2 separate regions of the Homo sapiens genome follow, and region 1 is linked to region 2. Evidence: promoter capture Hi-C in 16 types of primary human blood cells and fetal thymus (Javierre and others, 2016). All regions are on one chromosome and are shown on one strand. The core of a region is centred on a gene start or on the middle of the fragment in contact, and the rest is flanking DNA. Distances in the headings are between cores, read along the strand shown.

What was found. The method cuts DNA at HindIII sites, captures the fragments that hold promoters and counts their contacts. A CHiCAGO score of 5 or more calls a contact.
Region 1: a contact is called between a fragment that was not itself captured here and the fragment with the promoter of MALRD1-AS1 in region 2, in 1 of 17 cell types (megakaryocytes). The highest score is 5.1, in megakaryocytes.

Annotation. Positions count from the first base shown.
Region 1 is chr10:19,806,653-19,811,162 of GRCh38, reverse strand. No RefSeq gene overlaps it. Among named protein-coding and RNA genes, the nearest start is that of PLXDC2, 7.5 kb to the left of the region's middle. The HindIII fragment of the contact is 799 bases long and covers 2,152-2,950 here.
Region 2 is chr10:19,726,430-19,730,424 of GRCh38, reverse strand. It overlaps MALRD1-AS1 (MALRD1 antisense RNA 1), which reads left to right and starts at 1,875. Exons shown (of 5, transcript NR_120646.1): 1 at 1,875-2,020. The region is part of intron 38 of MALRD1 (MAM and LDL receptor class A domain containing 1); the gene reads right to left. The HindIII fragment of the contact is 5,040 bases long and covers 1,303-3,995 here.

The DNA.
Region 1 (4,510 bases), core at 1,302-3,801, 80 kb before region 2:
GAATTATATTATGGATAAAAGATTAAGTCCATCAGTTATTGGACATTTGGGTTGTTCCCACTTTTTGCCTATTATGAATAACGTGACTTTAAAAATCTATGCACAATTTGTGTGAACATATGAGCAGTATGGTGACACTATAATTAACTTTGTGAGAAAATGACAAACTGTTTTCCACAGTGGTTGCACCTTTTTACTTTCCTAACAATGCATGAGGGTTCAAATTTCTCCTCATCTTTGCAAATACTTGTTTTTCATTGAAAAAAAAACTACAGTGATCCCAGTTGGTGTGAAGTGGTATGACATTCTGGTTTTTATTTGCATTTCCCTGACGACTATTGATGGTAAGCATCTTTTCTTGGGCTTATTGAGCATTCATGTATCTTCTCTGGAAAAGATTCTCTCTAAACCCTTTCTCATTTTTAATTCGACTGTGTTTTTATTGTTGAGTTGTATGAATTCTCAACATAGTCTGGATGTTGGGCTCTTAAAGTATGTAGGATTTGCAAACATTTTCTGAAAGAAATGACATAATATGGGTTGTCTTTTCGCTTTCTTGATAGTGTTCTTTGATGCACGTTGTTTTTTATTTTGATAAAGCAAGATGTATATATTTTTCTTTGGTTACTTCTACTATAGGTGTCATGTATAAGAAACTCATGCCTAATCCAAGGTTGATTTATGCCTATATTTTCTCCTAAGAATTTTATAGTTTCATTTTCATATTTAGTTCTTTGGTCCATTTATGTAAATTTTTGTATAAAATGTGAGGAAGGGGACAAAAATTATTCTTTTGCATATGGACATACAATTGTCTCAGCCACTTGTTGAAAAGATTGTTACTGCATTGAATGATCTTGACATCATTGTTGAAAATCAGTTGGCCATAGACATATAGGTTTATTTCTGGACTCCCAATTCTATCCCATTAATATATATGTCTCTCCTTATACTACACTGTTTTGGTTACTGTAGCTTTTTGGTAAGAGTTGAAATAAGGAAGTGTGAGTCCTCTTGCTATGTTCTGTTTATCAAGATTGATTTAGCTAGTCTGAATCCTTTGCATTTTCATATAAAGTTTAGAATTCGCTTGTCCATTTCTCCAAAAGAGGCTGTTGGAATTTTGATTGGGATTTAATTGAACCTCTAGATTAATTTTGGGACTGTTGCCATCTTGACAATATGAAGTCTTCCAATCCATGAATGTGAGATGTCTTTCTATTAATTTTCCTCTTCTTTAATTTATTTCAATATTGTTATGTAGTTTTGTAGCTTCAATGTACTAGCATTGCACTTGTTTTGTTATATTTATTTCTAAGTATTTTATTCTTTTTGATGCTGTTATAAATGAAATCGTTTTCTTAATTACATTTGTAGATTTCGAATGGTTCTCATATTAGTTTGCTAGGGCTGCCACGACAAAACACCACTGACTGAGTGGTGTAAACACTCACATTTCTGGAGGCTAAGAGTCCCAGATCAGGGTGCCAGCAGTTTTGGTTTCTTCAGAGGCCTTACTTCTTGGCTTGTAAATGCTCATGTTCTCACATGATCATTTCTCTGTGTACACATCTTCCTTTTTATTCAAATTTTCTTTTACCATAAGGTCAGCAGTGAGATTGGATTAGGAACCACCATAATGGCCTCATTTTAACTTGAACACCTCTTTTAATGCTCAATTCCCAATTACAGGCACATTTTCGGGTTCTGAGAGTTAGGCCTTTAACATATGAGTTTGGAGGGGCACAAAATCCAGCATATACCAGTTAATAGATAGGAGTACAACTTATTTTTTGTTTATTAATCTTGCAAACTTGCCAATTGATTGGGATTTAATTGAACCTCTAGATTAATTTTGGGACTGTTGCCATCTTGACAATATGAAGTCTTCCAATCCATGAATGTGAGATATCCCCACATTCCCAATGCATTTATTATATCTAATAGTTTTTTACAGGTGTGAGAATTTCTTAGGGGTTTTTTTTAGGTATAAGATCTTCAAATATCTTTTTCTTTTGTCTTCCTTTCCCATATAGATAGATGCCTTTTGTTATATTTTCTTACCAAATTACCCTGGTTAGAACCTCTGGTACAATGTTAAATGGAAGTGTTGACAGTAGTTGTCTTGTTCTTGATGCTATAGGGAAAGCTTTAACTCTTTCACCATTAAACATGACATTAGCTGTGGAGTTTTCACTGATGCCCTTTATCAGGTTGAGCAAGATTCCTCCCATTCCTAGTTTATGAGTATATTTATCATGAGTGGGTGTTGGATTTTGCCAATTTTTTTTTCTGCATCAACTAATAAGATTGTGCATTTGTTTCTTTTATTCTATTGGTATGGCATATTACTTGGATAGATTTTGATGTGTTGAACCAATCTTATATACTCAAGAGAAATTCTACTTGGTCATGGGATATGGTCCTTTTTCTCAGATACTAAATTCAGCTTTCTAGCATTTTAAAAAAATTCTGCATCCATATATGTAAGGGGCATTAGTTTTTATTTGTCTTTTCTTGTGAGGTCTTTGCCAGGTTTTGGTATCAGGGTAATACTACCCTCATTAGAATGAGTTAGGAAGTGTTCCTTCTTCTTTACCTTTTGGAAACATTTGGAAAATATGTGTTAATTTATCTTTAATCTTTTAGTAGAATTCACCAGTGAAGCCATCTGGGTATGATTTTTTGTGTGTGTGGAAATTTTTTCTTTATTAATCTACTGTTTCTCTTTTTTATCAGTCTTGTCAGATTTTCTATTACTGTTTGAGCCTGTTTCGATATTTTCTTTGTCAGGAATTTTCCATTTGTTATCTAATTTATTAGTATACAATTGTGTATAATATTCTCATATAACAATTTTTATTTCTGTATGGTTGGTAGTAATGTCCACTTTTTCGTTTCTGATAACTTGGGTGTTCTGTCTTTTTTCTTGGTAAATTGAAGTAAAGCTTTGTCAATGTTGTTGATCAAAAACGAAGAGTTTTGTTGACATTCTTGATTGTTTTTCTATTCTCATTCTCTATTTCTTTTATTTCCACAATAATCTTTCTTGTTTACCGCCTATTTGCTTTAGGTTAGCTTACGTTTTTTTCTAGTTTCTTAAGGTGGAAAGTCAGGTCATTAATTTTAGATCTATTCTTTTTAAATGTAGGCATTTGTAGCTATAATTTTCTCTCTGAATACTGTTTTTGCTGCATCCCAAGTTTTGATATATTGTGTTTTTATTTCACTAATCTCAAAATATTTTCTAATTTCCCTTGTGATTTCTTCTTTTATCCATCAGTCATTTAGGAATGTGTTGTTTAATATCTATGCATCAGAGAATATCCCAAATTTTCTATATTATTGATTTCTAACTTTATTTCATTTTGGTCTGAGAACATATTTTGTAAGATGTCAAACCTTTTACATTTATTGAGACTTGCTGTATTGACTAATACATAGTCTCTTTTGGAGAACATTCAGTGAGCACTTGAGAAGAATATATTCTGTTGTTTCACAGATGTTCTACAGAAGTCCACAGACATAGAGAATGTTCTGCAGATGTCTCTGGTCTAGACGGTTTATAGGTTTGCACAAGTCTTCAGCAGTATGTTTAATTTTGTGTTTACTTGTTCTAACCACTATTTAATGTCTTCAACTATTATTTTTAACTGTCTTTTTATCTTTTCAATTCTTTCAGTTTGTCTTTATGTCTTTTATGCTCCATTGTTAACTGCATATATGTTTATAATTGTTATATCTTCTCAGAAGATTGACTCATAATTATAAAAAGTTCTTTTGATCTCTGGTAACAAGTTTTGTTTTAAAATCTTTTATTGTCAAATATTAGTATGGACTCTCCAGCTCTCTTGGTTACTCTTTAGATGGTATATGTTTTCCTATTCTTTTAATTTTTTTTGTGTGTCATTGAATCTAAATTTTGTCTCTTAGAGTTAGCATATAGATAAACTTTGTTTTAAAAAAATATATTATGCAATATCTTCCTGTTAATTGGAAAGTTTAATCCATTTAAATGTAATATAATTACTGATAAGGTAAGTATCATATTTGCAATTTTGTTATTGTTTTCTTTTTTTGTTGTTGTTTTTTGATGGAGTCTTTCACTCTATCACCCAGGCTGGAGTGCAGTGGCACCATCTTGGCTCACTGCAACCTCCATCTTCCAGGTTCAAGTGATCTCCTGCCTCTGCCTCCCAAGTAGCTGTGATTACAGATGTATGCCACCACACCCAGATGATTTTTGTGTTTTTAGTAGAGACAGGGTTTCACCATGTTGGCCAGGCTGGTCTTGAACTCCTGAACTCAGGTGATCCACCCGCCTCAGCGTCCCAAAGTGCTGGGATTACAGGTGTGAGCCATCATGCCCGACCAATTTTCTGTATGTATTTTTCCCCATTATTTCTGACTTATTTTGTGTTTAACAGATATATCTTCTAGCATACCATTTTAATTCTTGTGTTATTTCTTTTCTTTTATATTTTATTTTCCTAGCAGTTGTCCTGTGGAT
Region 2 (3,995 bases), core at 626-3,125:
TTGATTTCTTAAAATATTACTCAGTGCAAAGTGTCCAACATTAGAAAGAACAATGTAATATGAAGCTGTACTAGTGATAAAGAAAGGCCATCTTGAAGTCCTTTACACTGCACAGTGCCAAACCACTACATCCTGAAGACTGTTTTCCATGACAGTATCTGTCATAAAGATCTGTAGCACATGAGTCATAGTCTTTAACATTTTAATCAGCAAATTTAAATACAACTGTTTTGAAAAGTTCTTTAGGGTAGTGTTTCATGAAACTCAAAAACAGCAAGCCCTTGGTAATATCACATATTGGACTACATGTGCATAATTCACTATAATTAACTGGGCTCCATATGATTATTTTCCTTTTATACTTTACTTAAGAATTAATAGACTTATAGGCCGGGCGTGGTGGCTCACGCCTGTAATCCCAGCACTTCGGGAGGCCGAGGCGGGCGGATCACGAGGTCAGGAGATCGAGACCATCCTGGCTAACACGGTGAAACCCCGTCTCTACTGAAAATACAAAAAAATTAGCCGGGCGTGGTGGCGGGCGCCTGTAGTCCCAGCTACTTGGGAGGCTGAGGCAGGAGAATGGCGTGAACCCGGGAGGCGGAGCTTGCAGTGAGCCGAGATCGCGCCACTGCACTCCAGCCTGGGCCACAGAGCGAGACTCCGTCTCAAAAAAAAAAAAAAAAAAAAAAAAAAAAAAAAAGAATTAATAGACTTATTAGAAGACACGCAGCCCTGGACTACTTGGTGACAACTGATGAAGAAAAAATGTCCATCGTAGGAACAAAAAAAAGTAACCAAGAACTAAATACACACACACACACACACACACGAAAGGATCCTATACACACATGTGTACACACACACACACATAAGAAAGGATCCTATACATGCATGTGTACACACACACACACACACAATGGAGAATGGAAGACCAATTCCAGGATGATTGTTTTAAGAGCTTAATGACACGAGTAACAAATATATAATGTATGATAATTGTATAACACAATGTATAATGTATGTATAATGTATATTTTTTGCCTATTCAGGATACAGTGAAAATTAATGTTTGTCAGTAATATAATTCTAAATCCCAAAATAAAATGTAGCAAGAAGGGGGCTCTTACTGATTTGATTTCTGAAAACAAATTGCCATAGGCATAACTGCCTATTGTCATCTACCAAACCACATGGTCCTTTTCAAAGAAACTGCAGCATCAGTGAGCCTAACAGTCTAATCTAGCTAATTATGTTTGGCTGGCAATACATTGTCCCTGTGGATTCAGTGTCTTTTAAGCTTCCTGATCTCCACTGGCTTAAATATACAATAGATTAAATGTTTCACCCTCACCGCGGGTACATTTTGCTTATTGATGAATAGGGCCATATGCATCTATTTTGTGGGTTATTATTGAAAAAAGTCTGAATTGAGTCAACAAATATCTGTTAATTCCTTAAGCACTAATTGAATGCTTATTAGTTGCTCTGATTAATTTGAGTAAGTTGTGTTTGACTCTTTGCCTTTACTTTATTCAAGACTAGTCTATGTTAAATTCTCGGAGTAGTAATCTCAGTACATAGCATGGTTAGTGCATGAACTGAGCCAGGGATGATCTTGGAGTTGAGATTGGGTAGGGAGTGAAGTGTAGTTTTGAAATGCATCAAAATACCAAAGCAGGAAAAATTGGACATGGAAGTAGGGATGATCAAAACATAATAGAAATTAGGAACTAAGTAAAGATAAGACAGACACTGACACCAAGAGCTCAGAAAAATTAAGAGGCTGAAATCAGGCATGAAATCAGGAAGCAGGAGGAAACCCAAACCACAGGGCTAGACAGGACAGATGGTCAAAGCCTGAGCATACAACCAGGAGCTGAAGGGACCAGCTTGGCCGTCAGTTGCAAGGGTGTGAGGCAGAAGCAACACAAAAGATCTTGATATGAAGCAATTATTTTTGGTCTTAAACTGCTGGGACTCCAGATGACCCAGACCACGGTCAGCAGGCAGAAGCCAGGTAAATTTATATAATTCTCAGCTCTGTTAATTCAATTATTGAAGCTACTTGTCTTCTGAAAGGGTTTTAAGTCTGAAATAATTTTCTATTAAAATGAAAAAACATTTGAAGGTGTCTGGCCTTCAAGATTTGGGTAACTACAAAGAAGGAAGATGATATTTAAGAGTAAGGATGTGGAGTTGTAATAAAAGAAGAAAGGGTTTCAGTGTGAGTATTGGAAGGTGAGGAATGGCAAATCCTTCCTACTTCAACTTTTGTTTTTTAGTAGTCTCAAATTGCTTTTATTTTTCCTAGATTAAAGATATATCTCCCATTCTTGAAAATCCCTGGACTATTAGACTTAAATTTTAATGTCTTTCCTATTTATTTATAAGGTAAACTATTACACCGTCCACAGATTCTTCCATGAAGGAAATTGCTAGTGTCACTCTATACATTTAGTATTTCAAGTTCAATATTATGATTTTCCATTTTCATCAACTATGTCAATTTGACATTCAAACACAGGCAATTTTACTTAAAATGGTGGATCCTTACATGAGGGAAATAAAATGTTTGTTTCATTATAAAGTTTCCTGCCAGTTCTGAAACTCAATGGTGTAATGATGAGTCTTCATCAGGCCAAAAAAAAAAAAATGCAATGTTTGACTTACTGTATTTGTCAATATGCCGGTAGCTCTTAAGCAGTTGATTTTTTTTCCCCCAATGAATAAGTGAGTTGTAAGAATTGAGGTTCTAAAGAATATAACCACCTCTAGGAATAATGATGATAAAGGAACTGACTTAGAAATTTTGAGTAGAGGAAAGGAAGTTGCATGGATCATATAAGTTTTTCTCCCTTATCATGCATTCATATAAATTATTATTAAGTTTATCTTATATCCATTACGTGCAGATACTGTGCGAAGTGGCATTCTGAATGTGTGACAAGAGACCTAGATCAATGCAGAACTAAGATAATTCTGATGGCAGTTTCCAATTTTAATTTAGCGAGCATATTTATACTTCTAATGGAATTCACTTATTAACTGACAACATTGTTTTAGTGTTGATAAAAGCATGGAAGTGTTTATAATAGTCTGAAACTATTACAAATGGGAAAGGAGAAAAAAAGAATAAAACAAAAACCAATCTATGTTACATCCAGTAAACATGACTTCGAGGTGAATATTTTGTATTTTTATTTTTAACAGCTTTATGGAGCTATAAATCACATGCCATACAATTCACAAACTTAAAGTACACAATTCAATGGTTTTCAGTAATGTTACTTTTATTAATTTTTAATTTTTAAAACAGTGGTATATATCACATAAAATTTGCCATTTTAACCATTTCAAGTATACAATTCAATGCCATTAATTCCACTCACAGTGTTGTGCTACCATTACCACTATTTCCAAAATGTTTTTATAACTCTGAACTGAAGCTCCATGGCCAGTGAGCATTAACACCCCATTCCCCTCCAACCAATCCCAGGTAAATTCTGATTTACCTTCTGTCTTTATGAGACTCGAGGTACCTCACCTAAGTGGAATCATACAGTATTTGTCCTTTTGTGTTTGGCTTATTTCACTTAGCATAATGTTTTCAAGATTCATCCATATTGTAGTATGTATCAGAAGTTTAATCATTTTTATTGCTGAATAATATTCCCTTGCATGTATATGTCACATTTTGTTTATTCATTCACCTGTTGATGGAAATTTGGGTAGTTTCCATCTTTTCACTATTGTGAATACTGCTATGGGGAACATTGCTGCATGAATATCTGTTTAAGTCTCTATTTTGATTCTTCGAGGTATATAACTAGGAGTTGAATTGATAGAACACACGGTAACTCTTTTTTAACTTTTGAGGAACTGCCAAACTGTTTTTGATAGTGCTGCACCATCTTACATTCCCACCAACAATGTGTGAGGGTTTCTATTTCTCCTCATCCTCATCAACACTTGTTATTTTCAGTTTTTAAATT